4 separate regions of the Homo sapiens genome follow, and regions 2, 3 and 4 are each linked to region 1. Evidence: promoter capture Hi-C in 16 types of primary human blood cells and fetal thymus (Javierre and others, 2016). All regions are on one chromosome and are shown on one strand. The core of a region is centred on a gene start or on the middle of the fragment in contact, and the rest is flanking DNA. Distances in the headings are between cores, read along the strand shown. Region 1 holds the start of SLC12A5-AS1 (SLC12A5 and MMP9 antisense RNA 1). Region 2 overlaps DNTTIP1 (deoxynucleotidyltransferase terminal interacting protein 1). Region 3 overlaps CDH22 (cadherin 22). Region 4 has its middle 44 kb from the start of CD40.

The links. The method cuts DNA at HindIII sites, captures the fragments that hold promoters and counts their contacts. A CHiCAGO score of 5 or more calls a contact.
Region 2: a contact is called between a fragment that was not itself captured here and the fragment with the promoter of SLC12A5-AS1 in region 1, in 5 of 17 cell types (fetal thymus, total CD4 T cells, total CD8 T cells and 2 more). The highest score is 5.8, in fetal thymus.
Region 3: a contact is called between a fragment that was not itself captured here and the fragment with the promoter of SLC12A5-AS1 in region 1, in 9 of 17 cell types (naive B cells, total B cells, naive CD4 T cells and 6 more). The highest score is 9.0, in naive B cells.
Region 4: a fragment that was not itself captured here is called in contact with the fragment with the promoter of SLC12A5-AS1 in region 1 in 1 of 17 cell types (naive B cells); the score reaches 5.6 in naive B cells.

What each region holds. Positions count from the first base shown.
Region 1 is chr20:46,020,436-46,023,645 of GRCh38, reverse strand. It overlaps SLC12A5-AS1 (SLC12A5 and MMP9 antisense RNA 1), which reads left to right and starts at 1,573. Exons shown (of 3, transcript NR_147699.1): 1 at 1,573-2,122. It also overlaps a transcript of SLC12A5 not described here. RefSeq lists silencers at 1,523-1,882, 1,903-2,062. The HindIII fragment of the contact is 8,792 bases long and covers 1-3,210 here.
Region 2 is chr20:45,797,038-45,800,247 of GRCh38, reverse strand. All of the region lies in intron 4 of DNTTIP1 (deoxynucleotidyltransferase terminal interacting protein 1), which reads right to left. Among named protein-coding and RNA genes, the nearest start is that of DNTTIP1, 6.7 kb to the right of the region's middle. The HindIII fragment of the contact is 279 bases long and covers 1,346-1,624 here.
Region 3 is chr20:46,182,543-46,185,752 of GRCh38, reverse strand. All of the region lies in intron 10 of CDH22 (cadherin 22), which reads left to right. Among named protein-coding and RNA genes, the nearest start is that of CD40, 66 kb to the right of the region's middle. The HindIII fragment of the contact is 9,259 bases long and covers 1-3,210 here.
Region 4 is chr20:46,161,020-46,164,229 of GRCh38, reverse strand. No RefSeq gene overlaps it. Among named protein-coding and RNA genes, the nearest start is that of CD40, 44 kb to the right of the region's middle. The HindIII fragment of the contact is 4,970 bases long and covers 1-3,210 here.

The DNA of each region.
Region 1 (3,210 bases), core at 324-2,823:
TGGAGGTGGGAGAATGAATGTGGACAAGAACACCAGAAGCAAATGAGGAAAGAGAATGACAGACTTAAGGCTTTGGCCTTTATTTTGCAAGTGATGGGGGGCTTCTGTGGAGGAGGGCTAGGGAAGGACTGGAGGCAGGGAGGCCAGTGGAGAGGATGTGGTCGTGGCCATGTGAGGCTTGGAGCAGGGCGATGATGACAGAGGGGGGACCGATGCTGCCAGATTCAGGATAAGTTTCAGAGGTGAATGGCCAAGACGTGGGGATCAGTTGGATTTGCTGGAAAGAAAAAAGGAAGGGTTGAGAATGGCTCCAGAATTTCTTACTTTCAAATCTGGGAGGCTGGTAAGGTCATTCATGAAAATGAGAAAAGAGATTATGAGAAAGATGAAGAGTGGAAGGAGCCCAAGAAATCCAAGTGGCCACAACCAGGAGGCGTTCGGTTCCCGGGACTGGGGCCATTCGGAATTCCAGGCCTCAATTTGGTCATCTGTACAATGAGGAGGTCCGCCAGATAACCCCCTAAGGGTTACTCTAGGGGTTTCGGCGCTTGGGTTTGCTTCGGGGCGAGCTCACCTGCGGCTCGGCAGCGACCCCTGGCGGTCTGGGGAGGCTTCTCCTCCTCCTTCTCCTCCTCCTCCTCTTCCTCCTCCTCTTCCTCCTCCTCCTCTTCCTCCTCCTCCTCCTCCTCCTCCTCCTCCTCCCCTCGCTGGGGCCACTACAAGCCGATTCGCCTTGTTCCTTCCAGACCCGAGGGCCTCAGAGCCAGGGAGAGGACCCCTGATGAGTGCCCCCTGAGGGGAGACTGTGCACGCGCCCAGGATGCTACTTCTCCACCGAAGGCCAGAAGGATCTTTCCCCTCCCCTATACTCTGTGCCCTGCGTGTAACTTCCATTACAAGACCCTGCACAGGGCCCGCGAGGAAGACGCCCCCAACCCCGCCTGAGCTGGCTCCTCCCAACCCTTACGGAGCTCGAGCAGACAAGGAGCTAAGTGGGTCCCCAAGAGTCGGGATCAGCGACCCTACGGCATCCTCCCTGAATCTCGCTGCCCAGGATCCATACTAACTTCCCTGCCTCCCGTCTCCTTCCCGGGATCCCCAGTCGCTGTCCGCTAAGCCTCCAGGGAGCTAGAGGATTGGAGGATCCGCCAGGCACCGAGGACCCGCTGACCTGGCACCTGCCTCGGCAACCCTGACTCAGTTTTCCTCCCGCCCTCGACCCCACCCCCCTCCCAGGCCCCACTCCCATCCTCCTGGCCCAACTCATTCCCTACTAGTCCCGCCCTTTCCTGACCCCAAACCAACCTAGTCCCGCCGCCTCCCCTTTAGGGGCTCCTGACCATCCCCCTTCAACACACAGCCCCCTTTTTCCCTAGTTCCACCTCCTCACTCTGGTCCCGCTCCCTACTCGAGATGTCCCCGCCCCTTTAGTGCCCTACGGCCTACTCTCCACCTTGACCCCGGCCTTTCCATCACCAGACCCGCCCCCTTCGCCTCCGTCCAAACCCCTTCCCTGGCCCCACCCCTTTCCCTCGTGGCCACGCCCACCTCGCGTTTGGCCCCTCCCCCTCCACACTTTGCGTTCCGCGGCCCCGGCCCCTTGGTTTCCTAGTCCTGGCTCCATTCCCCTCTCAGGCCTAGGGCTGGGACCCCTCCCCGCCCCCGGTCTTGGCCCTGCCCCCTTCAACAGACGGTCCGCCCCGGCCCCTCCCCCTCGTCCCGCCCGGCCCTGGCAGGCCCCGCCCCCTGCGGCCTCTACCTTTGACGTCTTCCCCCGGGAGGTGGCGGGGGTCTGCGACCGAATGCCGGCGGGACTCTGGGTCAGGGCTTCTGGCGGGCCCTGCGGGGGGCAGCGAGGTGACCGTGAACCTGCGGCTCATGGCGCGGAAAGGAGCCAGGCGGCCGCGGCAAGGTCCGGGATCGCACAAGTGGCTGCAACCAGGCTCTAGGAGGGAGAAAGAGCGGATCCCCCAACCCCCTCCGCCCGCCCGCCCCCCGCGAGACGCGGCGCCGCGCAGGGTCCTAGTGCCCGCTGTGCGAAGGGTTCCTGAATCTGGCCACTTCGCTGGGAGGCCCTGGGCTCCCCAGTGCCACCCGAAGGGCCTGAGGAGGCCATCTGCAGGTGAGAGTCGTCCCTACAACGGGGGCACCTCTGTTAGGGTCTCCTAAACACCTGGGGCTCATTCATTCATTCATTCATTCATTCGGCACATGTCGATAGCGCTCCTGTGTTTCGGTCAATGGTGCGAGGGATACGTCGGTGGATGAGATCCACTGGCTTCTTGCCCTCAAGTGGCTTAAATTCTAATAAGGAGAAAAAGATTATAAGTGAGCAAATGCATAGATGAGATCATTTGAGATTGGATGTATGTTTAAAACTAGGGCCATGGGATAATGGGTAAGAGGGAGGACTACTTTAGGGGTGGCCTGAGAAGGCCTCCTAGAAGATGTGGTATTTGAGCTGAGACCTCACTGATGAGAAGGGCCAGCTATGCAAAGATCTAGGGGGAAGAGTTCTCTAGAAGAAGAAACAGCAAATGCAGAGCCTTGGAGTGAGAAGGAGTCCCGACTGTCCAAGAAACAGCAAGGCCATTGTGTCTGGAAGAGAGTGAGTGGAGAAGAGAGTGACTGGAGATGAGGGAGGAGAGAAGGGCAGATCATGTGGTCTTCTGAAGGCTTTGGGGAGGATCCTGGATTTTTTGAGCAGGGGAATGATGTGATCCAATTTATAATTTAACAGGATCATTCTGGCTGCTGGGCGAAGGTTCAACTAAAGAATGGCAAGAGTAGAAGCTGGAAATCTAATTAGGAGGCTCCTGCAGACCCCAAGCTGGGGGGTGATGACAGCCAGACTAGAGTGGTGGCAGTTGTCTGATTCCAGTTAGGTTTTGAAAGTGAAACCATCAGGACCCACTGATGGATCGGATGTGACACGTGACCATAAGAGTGAAGTCAAGGAGAAATCCTGGCAATTCACACACTGCTGGTGGGAGTGTAGTTAGGCAAAAACTACTTTGGGAAACTATTTGGAAACATCTACTGAAGGTGAACGTACACATATCCTTCAACCCAGCAGTTTTTCTCCTAGGTATATACCCGAAAGAAATGACTACTTGTGATCACCAAAAGACATTTACCATGAATGTTCATAGGGGCATTGTTCATAATAGCCCCAAATTGGAATCTACCAAATGCTTGTCAACAGTAAAA
Region 2 (3,210 bases), core at 236-2,735, 220 kb after region 1:
TGTTTCAATGTAAATTCTTCCTTGCTTTTCCCATGTAAATACATACTGTATGTTTTTTCAAACTAAATACATTAGTATAACACATACTCCTCAGTAAGCTGCTGTTTTTCTTTTTTCTTTTTTTTTTTGACATGGAATCTTGCTCTGTTGCCCAGACTGGAGTACAGTGGTGCGATCTCGGCTGTCTGCAATCTCCGCCTCCCAGGTTCAAGCAATTCTCCTGCCTCTGCCTCCTGAGTAGCTGGGATTACAGGCGTGCAACCACACCCAGCTAATTTTTTTTTTTTTTTTTTTTGGTATTTTTAGTAGAGATGGGGTTTTATCACGTTGGCTAGGCTAGTCTCACACTTCTGACCTCGTGATCTGCCCGCCTCAGCCTCCCAAAGTGTTGGGATTACAGGCGTGAGCCAGTGCGCCTGGCCTGCTGTTTTTCTTTTAATAAATACTGAGTACCTGGGACCTAAGTGCTGTGGACACAGCAGTAACTAGGACAAGCTCTTGTGGAGCTTATAGTTTGTGGGTGATCTGGATAATAAGCACAGAAACAAACAAGGTAACTGTGGATCATGATAGATGCTGTGAGAAAAAAAGAAAAAAACCCAGGCAGATGTGACAGAGAACCACCAGAGGGGAAGGGCTACTTTGCGGGAATGGCCAGGGAAGGCCTTGCTCAGAAGGTGGCCTCTGAGTTGAGATGTGAAGGAGGCTGTAAAAAAAGCTGGGCAGAAGTGTTTCAGCAGCAGGGAGGAGTGCAGAAGCTCAAAGGTGGGAACACCTGGCTCATTTGACAAAGAAAAGGATGGAATGGGCAGAGGGGAGATGGTGCAGCAGGTGGAGAATTGGGTTCACCCGACCTCTGCCAGTGGCATTTGACAGTGCTGAGGGCTCCCCCTTCTGGAAACACTCTTTTCTACAGGCTCCTGTGGCCACACTTCCTGTGTTCCTTCTACTTCTCTGGCCGTTCTTTCTTAGCCTTCTTTGCTGGCTTTTCCTTCTCAATCTGGTTCTTTTCCCTATCCTCTCTCATTACATATTCTATCTGCTCTCACCTATTCTCACAGCTTCAATTAACATCTATAAACCACGATTCCATAATTCAACTGTAGACAAAAGGTTATCCTCTGAGCTCTAGACTTATATACCAAATAGTCTGCCCCATGTCTATGCTTGGATGGCTCAAAGCTGCTAATCCATAATTGGATTCATGCTCTTCTCCTCCAAACTTTGTCCCTTTCCAGTGAAGGGTGATCAAGTCTCAATGTGTAATTATGCACACATTTGTTGGTAATCTAATTCACACCTGTCTGCTTAAGTAGGCTGTTAAGTTCTATTAGAGCAGGAAGCTTGTTTGTTCATTTATCATTTGTTTGTTCCTTCATTTACTCAATAATTCAGCAAACTCTGTACACATACTAAGAGTCATATTCCAGGGCTGGGAATACAGTGGTGAACAAGATTAGGCCTCAACTCTTGTAAAGCTCAAGATTTTAGCAGAGGTAGGAGTGCGAGGGGAAGACCTCTCTGATATTTAAACTAAGATCTGAAGAAAAGAAGGAGCCGGCTTTATAGAGTTAAGGGTAGAGTACCCCAGGTACTAAGAACAGCAAGTGAAATGGCCTAAGCTTGTGCTGGAGGAGCAGAAAGGAGTTCAGAACAGCCAGAGTATAGTCAATAAAAAAGAGGTGAGATGAAATGAAGTTAAAGAAGCAGGCAGAAGCCAGTCGAGGGTAGGCTCTGTGGGTCATGGTAAGGCATTTTTTTTTAAATTATACTTTAAGTTTTAGGGTACATGTGCACAACATGCAGGTTTGTTACATATGTATACATGTGCCTTGTTGGTGTGCTGCACCCAGTAACTCGTCATTTAACATTAGGTATATCTCCTAATGCTATCCCTCCCCCCTCCCCCAACCCCACGACAGGCCCCGGTGTCTGATGTTCCCTTTCCTGTGTCCATGTGTTCTCATTGTTCAATTCCCACCCATGAGTGAGAACATGCGGTGTTTGGTTTTTTGTCCTTGTGATAGTTTGCTGAGAATGATGGTTTCCAGCTTCATCCATGTCCCTAAAAAGGACATGAACTCATCACTTTTTATGGCTGCATAGTATTCCATGGTATATATGTGCCACATTTTCTTAATCCAGTCTATCATTGTTGGACATTTGGGTTGGTTCCAAGTCTTTGCTATTGTGAATAGTGCCACAATAAACATATGTGTGCATGTGTCTTTATAGCAGCATGATTTATATTCCTTTGGGTATATACCCAGTAATGGGATGGCTGGGTCAAATGGTATTTCTAGTTCTAGATCCCTGAGGAATCGCCACACTGACTTCCACAATGGTTGAACTAGTTTACGGTCCCACCAACAGTGTAAAAGTGTTCCTATTTCTCCACATCCTCTCCAGCACCTGTTGTTTCCTGACTTTTTAATGATCACCATTCTAACTGGTGTAAGATGGTATCTCATTGTGGTTTTGATTTGCATTTCTCTGATGGCCAGTGATGATGAGCATTTTTTCATGTGTCTTTTGGCTGCATAAATGTCTTCTTTTGAGGAGTGTCTGTTCATGTCCTTTGGCCACTTGTTGATGGGGTTGCTTGTTTTTTTCTTGTAAATTTGTTAGAGTTCATTGTAGATTCTGGGTATTAGCCCTTTGTCAGATGAGTAGATTGCAAAAATTTTCTCCCATTCTGTAGGTTGCCTGTTCACTCTGATGGTCATTTCTTTTGCTGTGCAGAAGCTCTTTAGTTTAATTAGATCCCATTTGTCAATTTTGGCTTTTGTTGCCATTCCTTTTGGTGTTTTAGTCATGAAGTCCTTGCCCATGCCTATGTCCTGAATGGTATTGCCTAGGTTTTCTTCTAGGGTTTTTATGGTTTTAGGTCTAACATTTAAGTCTTTAATCCATCTTGAATTAATTTTTGTATAAGGTGTAAGGAAGGGATCCAGTTTCGGCTTTCTACATATGGCTAGCCAGTTTTCCCAGCAGGATCATGGTAAGGCATTAAGACTTTATTCTCCCTGCAACAGGAAAGTCACTGAAGGGTTTTTAAAATGGGGAGTGACATGATCTAATTCATCTTTACGGAGATCAGTCTGGCTGCTGTGAGAAGAGTGGATTGGAACTGGGTAACGGTGAATGTAACTCTGGACTGAGATATAAATGTGTGAATTATGAGCGGCTGAATTGGCTTCCAAGCCACAG
Region 3 (3,210 bases), core at 184-2,683, 160 kb before region 1:
GGCACTACAGATGCACACCATCAGATCTGGCTAATTGTTTTATTTTTTGTAGAAATGGGGTCTTGCTGTGTTGCCCAGGCTGGTATCGAGCTCCTGGGCTCAAACAATCCTCCTACCTCGGCCTCCCAAAGAGCTGAGATTATAGGCATGAGACACCACGCCAGGCCCACTCACATTTCTTTCTGCAACCTCACAGCCATCCTGTGAGGTAGTTTTCTGACTCCTCTCCCCATTTTACAGGTGATGAAACTGAGACTCTAAGAGAGAAAGAGTCCTGCCCAGGGTCATATAGGGAGTCAGTGGTGTGGGTAGGATTCAACCCAACCCCATCCCAAGTCCAGTGTGCTTCCTGCCTCAGCACACCACCTGGAAAGCAAACTGCCCTGCCCTGCCTGAGTCCACTGTGAGATTCCTCCCCTCTGGCTCTCACAAGTTTCTCATGATGTTGATGTTTGAACCTTTAAGGAATAGACTGAGGGAAGGGGGCAGTCACCAGACTGGAAATAAGGGACCAGGCTCAGCGAAGGGTGCTCTATACCACCCTGGCAAGCTCCTGTTCCTCTCTGGTTTTTTTGTGTTTGTTGTTGTTTGTGTGTGTGTGTGTGTGTGTGTGTGTGTGTGTATGCGTGTGGGGTTTTTTTGTTGTTTTTTGTTTGTTTGTTTGTTTGAGACAGCATCTCATTCTGTTGCCCAGGCTGGAGTGCAGTGGTGCGATCTCAGCTCACTGCAACCTCTGCCTCCCAGGGTCAAGAGATTCTCTTGCCTCAGCCTTCAGAGTAGCTGGGGTTACAGGCACGCACCACCACGCCAGGCTAATTTTTGTATTTTTAGTAGAGACGAGGTTTCGCCATGTTGGCCAGGCTGGTCTCGAACTCCTGACCTCAGGTGATCTGCCCGCCTCGGCCTACCAAAGTGCTGGGGCGCCTGTTCCTCTCTAAGCCTCAGTTTCATCATCTAAAATGGGAGTAACACCTACTGCCTCGGGTGGCTAGGTAGCCCCAGTAAGATAAGGGCCACCAAGATATAGTGTTAATACCTAGAAATGTCAATTCCTACATCCAGCAATTATTTAGTGAGTGTTTATTGAGACACAAAGCCTCTGTGTCGGGGTCTGCTCCGGGTCCTGGAAATGCAACAGCAAACACAACAAAACCTAGTTTATATTCTAGTGAGGTGAGACAGAAATGACACAAATAAAAAAGTATGTTGGGGATGATAAGTGGCTGGGGTGGAGGAATAATGCAATCTCCACAAGGGTCTGGACTTGACTTTGTTCAACCCTAGGTGCCTGGAGCAGTGCTTGGCATATCGTAGGTGTTTGATAAAATGTGTTCAATGAAACAGTGAAAAATAAAGCAGGGCACAGTGGCTCAGCCCTGTAATCTCAACACTTTGGGAGGCTGAAGTGGGCGGATTAGTTGAGGTCAGAAGTTCGAGACCAGCCTGGCCAACATGGTGAAACTCAGTCTCTACTAAAAATACAAAAATTAGTCCAGCAGGGTGGCGCATGCCTGTAATCCCAGCTACTCCAGAGGCTGAGGCAGGAGAATTGCTTGAACCCAGGAGGCGGAGGTTGCAGTGAGGTGAGATCTCACCATTGCCCTCCAGCCCGGGCAACAAGAGCGAAACTCCATCTAAAAAAAAAAAAAGAGAGAGAGAAAGCAGGGTAAGAGGAGAAGCTATCTTCTTAAATAGGGTGGCCTGGGAAGGACTCTCCAAGGGTATCCATAGTGAGAAGGGACCTAAAGGATATGAGAGAAAACGACCACCCCAGTGGAAGAAATAGCAAGTGCAAAGGCCCTGTGGTGAGCAGGACTGGGGTGGATTAGGAATGGAGGAGACCTGTGTGATTAGAGTGAGTAAGAGACAGGACTGGGAGGAGATGTGGTCAGCGAGGGGGCCAGATCATGTGGGTTCCTTCTGGCCTTGGAACAGGTCTGGGATCCTTCTCAAGGCCTTTACACACTCACACCCAATGCGGAGCCTTAGTGGCCTCTGAAGCCAGACCCATCTGTACCCCTGGGAGTCCTGTTAAAAATATGTAAGGCTCATGTTTATAACTCCAGCACAAGGCAGGAGGATCCCTTGAGGCAAGGAGTTTGAGAATAGCCTGGACAACACAGTGAAAACCCATCTCTTTAAAAATAATAATAATAATTAGCTGGGCATGGTGGCGCACACCTGTAGTCCCAGCTACTCAGGAAGCTGAGGCAGGAGAATCACTTGAGCCTAGGAGTTTGAGGCTCCATTGAGCCACGATCGCACCACTGCACTCCAGCCTGGAAGACAGAGTGAGACCTTGTCTCAGTCAATCAATAATTAAAAATAAATAATGAAAAATAATAAACAGATTTAACAACCAGTGCAGCTCAGATGGCCAATCAGAAAGGACGCTGACCAAAACCTGGAGCAGGACCCTGGAAACTTTACTACACCAGGCATTAACTCCTTCGTGGCTTGATTGTGTCAAAGTTGGGAGGCTGCCTGGGGAAAAGGCTGAGGCAGCAGGGAGAGATTTGGGGGGCTTAGTGTCAACAGCTATTTAAGCCTTTTTTGGAAGTATTTCAATATTTTAACAACCAGTACAGCCCTGCCTATTCATTAGTCCAGTAGTATCCTGAGCAGGTCACAGGAAACACAGCTAGCCTTGGCTCAACTCTGCCAAGTTCACCAGGCTTTCCAACCCAAGGGGCCCGAGATTCTGCCTCAGTTGCTTTTGTTTAGCTGGGGGAGAGGGGGGGGCACCAGAGCTGCCATCCAGAGTGCCACCTGGTGTAAGCTCCGGGGACAGGGTGGCAGCAGCACGCTGAGGTCACAGCAGCCGTGGAAGGCCTCCTCCTCCTCCAGTCCCTCAGCCCCTTCCCACTACTTGCCAAGCCCCCTCCTCCTCACTGTATAAATATCCTAGGTGACAAACGGCTACCCCAACCCATCTGTTTCTTTGTACAAATGTGTAGCCAGTTTGGAAACGTGATTTATAAATATTGCCTTTGCAGCCAGGGATTGACACTGATGTATGTCAGGCCAGATGGATGGATGCAGCGCTGGGCACAGATCCCACCTAGAAGGGTGGGGTAGGGGACCGGGGTGGCCAGAGGCTTCCCCAACTGAAGCCAGCTGCTGCCCAGGAGGGCAGCTTGATGCATTCAGGGTTGATGCCTGGGGATTCCCCTTCATGGGGTGGAGGAGTGGTGGGGACCAGAGTTCCCA
Region 4 (3,210 bases), core at 446-2,945, 140 kb before region 1:
GAGATGGAATTTATAAACCTAGACAACCACACACACACACACACACACACACACATACAATCAAATACTATTCACAGAACCATACACAATTGTCCACACACACAACTACACATATGGGCACAGGAAGATCATGTACACACATGTACGCCATAGAAAAGACTGCAAGAGATAGATGGTGTCTATCTATACAGGTACACGCAGTCTCACGGTCAGTTAGTGAAAATGTGTGTACACCATGCAAGCAGTTCTACTAATGAGTGTAGACTCACGGAGAACATGATGGAGATGGAGATGAAGAACACACATACAACAGCCACACACAGATCTCCAGCTGTGCTTAGTGAACTCCCTCCCAGGGTGTCTGAGCCTTTGTGCACACCGAAGAGGAAGTGTACAGGCACAGAGACATTGCCACATGTGCACACATGCATGCACACATCACACGCACAGGACCCCTCAAAGCCCACTCCGTGTCCCCACAGAGGCCCATGGTCCTCACCTGCTGAACCCAGAGATGGCCCAGTTCCCCAGGCTGATTTCCCAGGGGAAGGGGGGGGGGCCACAGCCCCACCTGTCAACCTGCTATTTGTCACTCCATCACGGCCAGTGCGCTGACATTCAGAGCCCAGCACTGAGATGATCACATTTAGCTGTAATGTACCACAGACTGCACTGACATTTGGAAAATATTCCACCTCGGGACCCATTTGACTTCAAACTTTTTCCTGGAAGAGGAGAGAAGCAGCAGCAAGGACCTGCAATATTCTCAGCTTCCCAGGAGCTGAGAATCTGGGCCTCACCTGCCAAAGACCCGGGTATCCTGGCTGCTCCTTCTGCAGCTACCTGGAGACAGGGGGATGAGGAAGAGGAGTAGAGGCTCCCAAGGATGAAGTTCCGTATCATACATCAAGTCTTTACAGAAGATTCATTGGGAGTCCCCCATGTTTGGGGCCTGGCGATATCCACCTGCTGTCAATGGCACACCCACTAAGCGCCAGGCCTTGCTTTCAGCATGTCACATACAAGATCTCATTTGGCAATGGTAATGTGAGCTAGGAACTGTTATCATCCCATGTGAACAATGAAATCTCAGAGAGGTAAAGTGACTTGCCCAAGGTCACCAAGCTAGGAAGGAGTAGAGCTGAGATTTAACCCCAAGTCTGTCTGGCTCCGGAACCTGCCCTTTTTGCACTCCACAAAATGTGTCGCAGAGTCAGGCAAATGCTGACTCCTTCCCCGGGGCCACTCACCACCTTTTCTCTTCTCCCTTTCCCCTCTCAGGCTTCCTTTCTCTCCTCTCATTTCCCATCCTCTCTGCCTCAGTAAGCAGGACTAGTGCTTAGTCTGGGATAGCTTCCTGCAAGGGAAGAGGAGGGGATGGATGAGCAGCACCTGGAAGTCCGGAAGACTGGATGGATAGGATTAGCATCTGCAGAATCAATGTGCAAACCTCGCAGAAAAGACTCTGGAAAATACTGCATTTTAGAATGGAATGGTTGGACTCTTCCTACGTGACAGCTGCAGAGACCCCGGGCTTGGATGCAGGAGACTTGCCTGTAGTGGCCCAGCCCTCCCTGAAGTTGTGCCCACCCAAGATCCAGGCAACAAGGCTATCAGGGTAATCTAATGGCAGCCAGGGACGCCTCCACCCATTCCCCAAAAGAGGAGCTACAGAGAATCCTGCTGAACTAAATGGACTGGGCAATAATAGTGAAAATGTAGACGGAGTGCTAGAGAGTGAGGAAAAGGATATTTCGAAGGCATGGTGAAAATGACATGGCCCCAGCTAATCCAAAAAGAGATAGAAGAGGTAGGAAGGCTGTCCAGATTTCTTATGAGCTGATTAATCTCCTCAAATAAGTCAGAGTCCAACTTCCCAAAAGGCAAAAGAAAGTTAGGTTAATCTACTCTAAATGATTCCTGAGCTTCTCAGGGTGGCAATCAATACCCACACACACTCTCTCTCTCCTCTCTCTCTTCATGAGTAATTCTCAGTAATTACAAGAAAGAGGGTTTTGTGGAAAATGACATTCTAGCTGCAGAGAGAAGCCCAGGCAAAAGAATAAATTGGCCTCCAGTGGGAAGCCAGCCCTTTCAGTGGGGGAGGCTGTGGGACGGCCACCATCATATAATGTCTTGGGCCACAGAGTCCACCATAGGTCTGTCTGCCTGCAAGAGCTTTGAGTGGAAGAAGAAAGGCCAAATGTGGAGGATGAACCAAGATCTCCCACAGAAGCAAAAGGTTTCTACCCACTAGCACCCATCCTTGATGCCCTAGGAGTGACAGTGTCTGTAACTGATGTGCTTGAAGCATATCAATACTTAACACTAATACGTCAAGGATACCATCATCGATGAAAGGATGCTATCATTGATGAAAGGATACTATCATCGTTGAAAGGATACCAATATTGCTGAAAGGATACCAATATTGCTGAAAGGATACCATCACTGATGAAAGTCATCAGTGATGACTTTGGGGGCACCGTAAGCACTCATCACCAGCCTTAGGGCTCCATCACCTTTATTCTCAGGAGTACCCATCAGTGCCCATCCTGAAGGCTGGAGGGGCATCCTCCTGATGCCCCTGAGTAGAGGAACCTTATATTTCTTGATCATCATTGTATAGCCACTAGCCATGGTGGCTGGCACATAACAGAAGCACAGTAAACATCTGTTGAGTAAATGAATGAGTGAGTGAATGTTCTTGGGAAGGATGGACACCTCTTCTTGGTCCTGTCTACCACCCTGTCCTCAGGGCCTTACACAGTGCAATGCATAGCCAAGGAGAGGGCTCCATAAACATCTGTTGATGTGTGGGAGGGCGGGTGGGGGAATGGTGGATGCACACGTGATGCAGGATGCACACATGGAAGGAAGAAAGGAGGCCTTTGGAGCACAGTCACTGCCCCTCTGTAATGCCAGGGAATCTGCCTCTGAGACCACAGAGCTCAGCACAAAGGAATGCCAAAAGGGAAGAGAAATCTGCCTCCCGCACCATCCCTAGGGGTCTGGGCCCCCATGTGGCTAGATGGTTTTGGTCGATTCTCCCCTTTGCAGTGGGGATGAGGGTAGGAATGGAGGCAGGCAGAGGCAAGGAGAGTCTCTCACCTCCTGGACCTGCTCTCCCCACTCGCATCCCACTTCAATCCGAACACAATTTTCCAGAATGTCCCTAGGTTCTGGAGGGAAAGCTCATTACCTGTGATC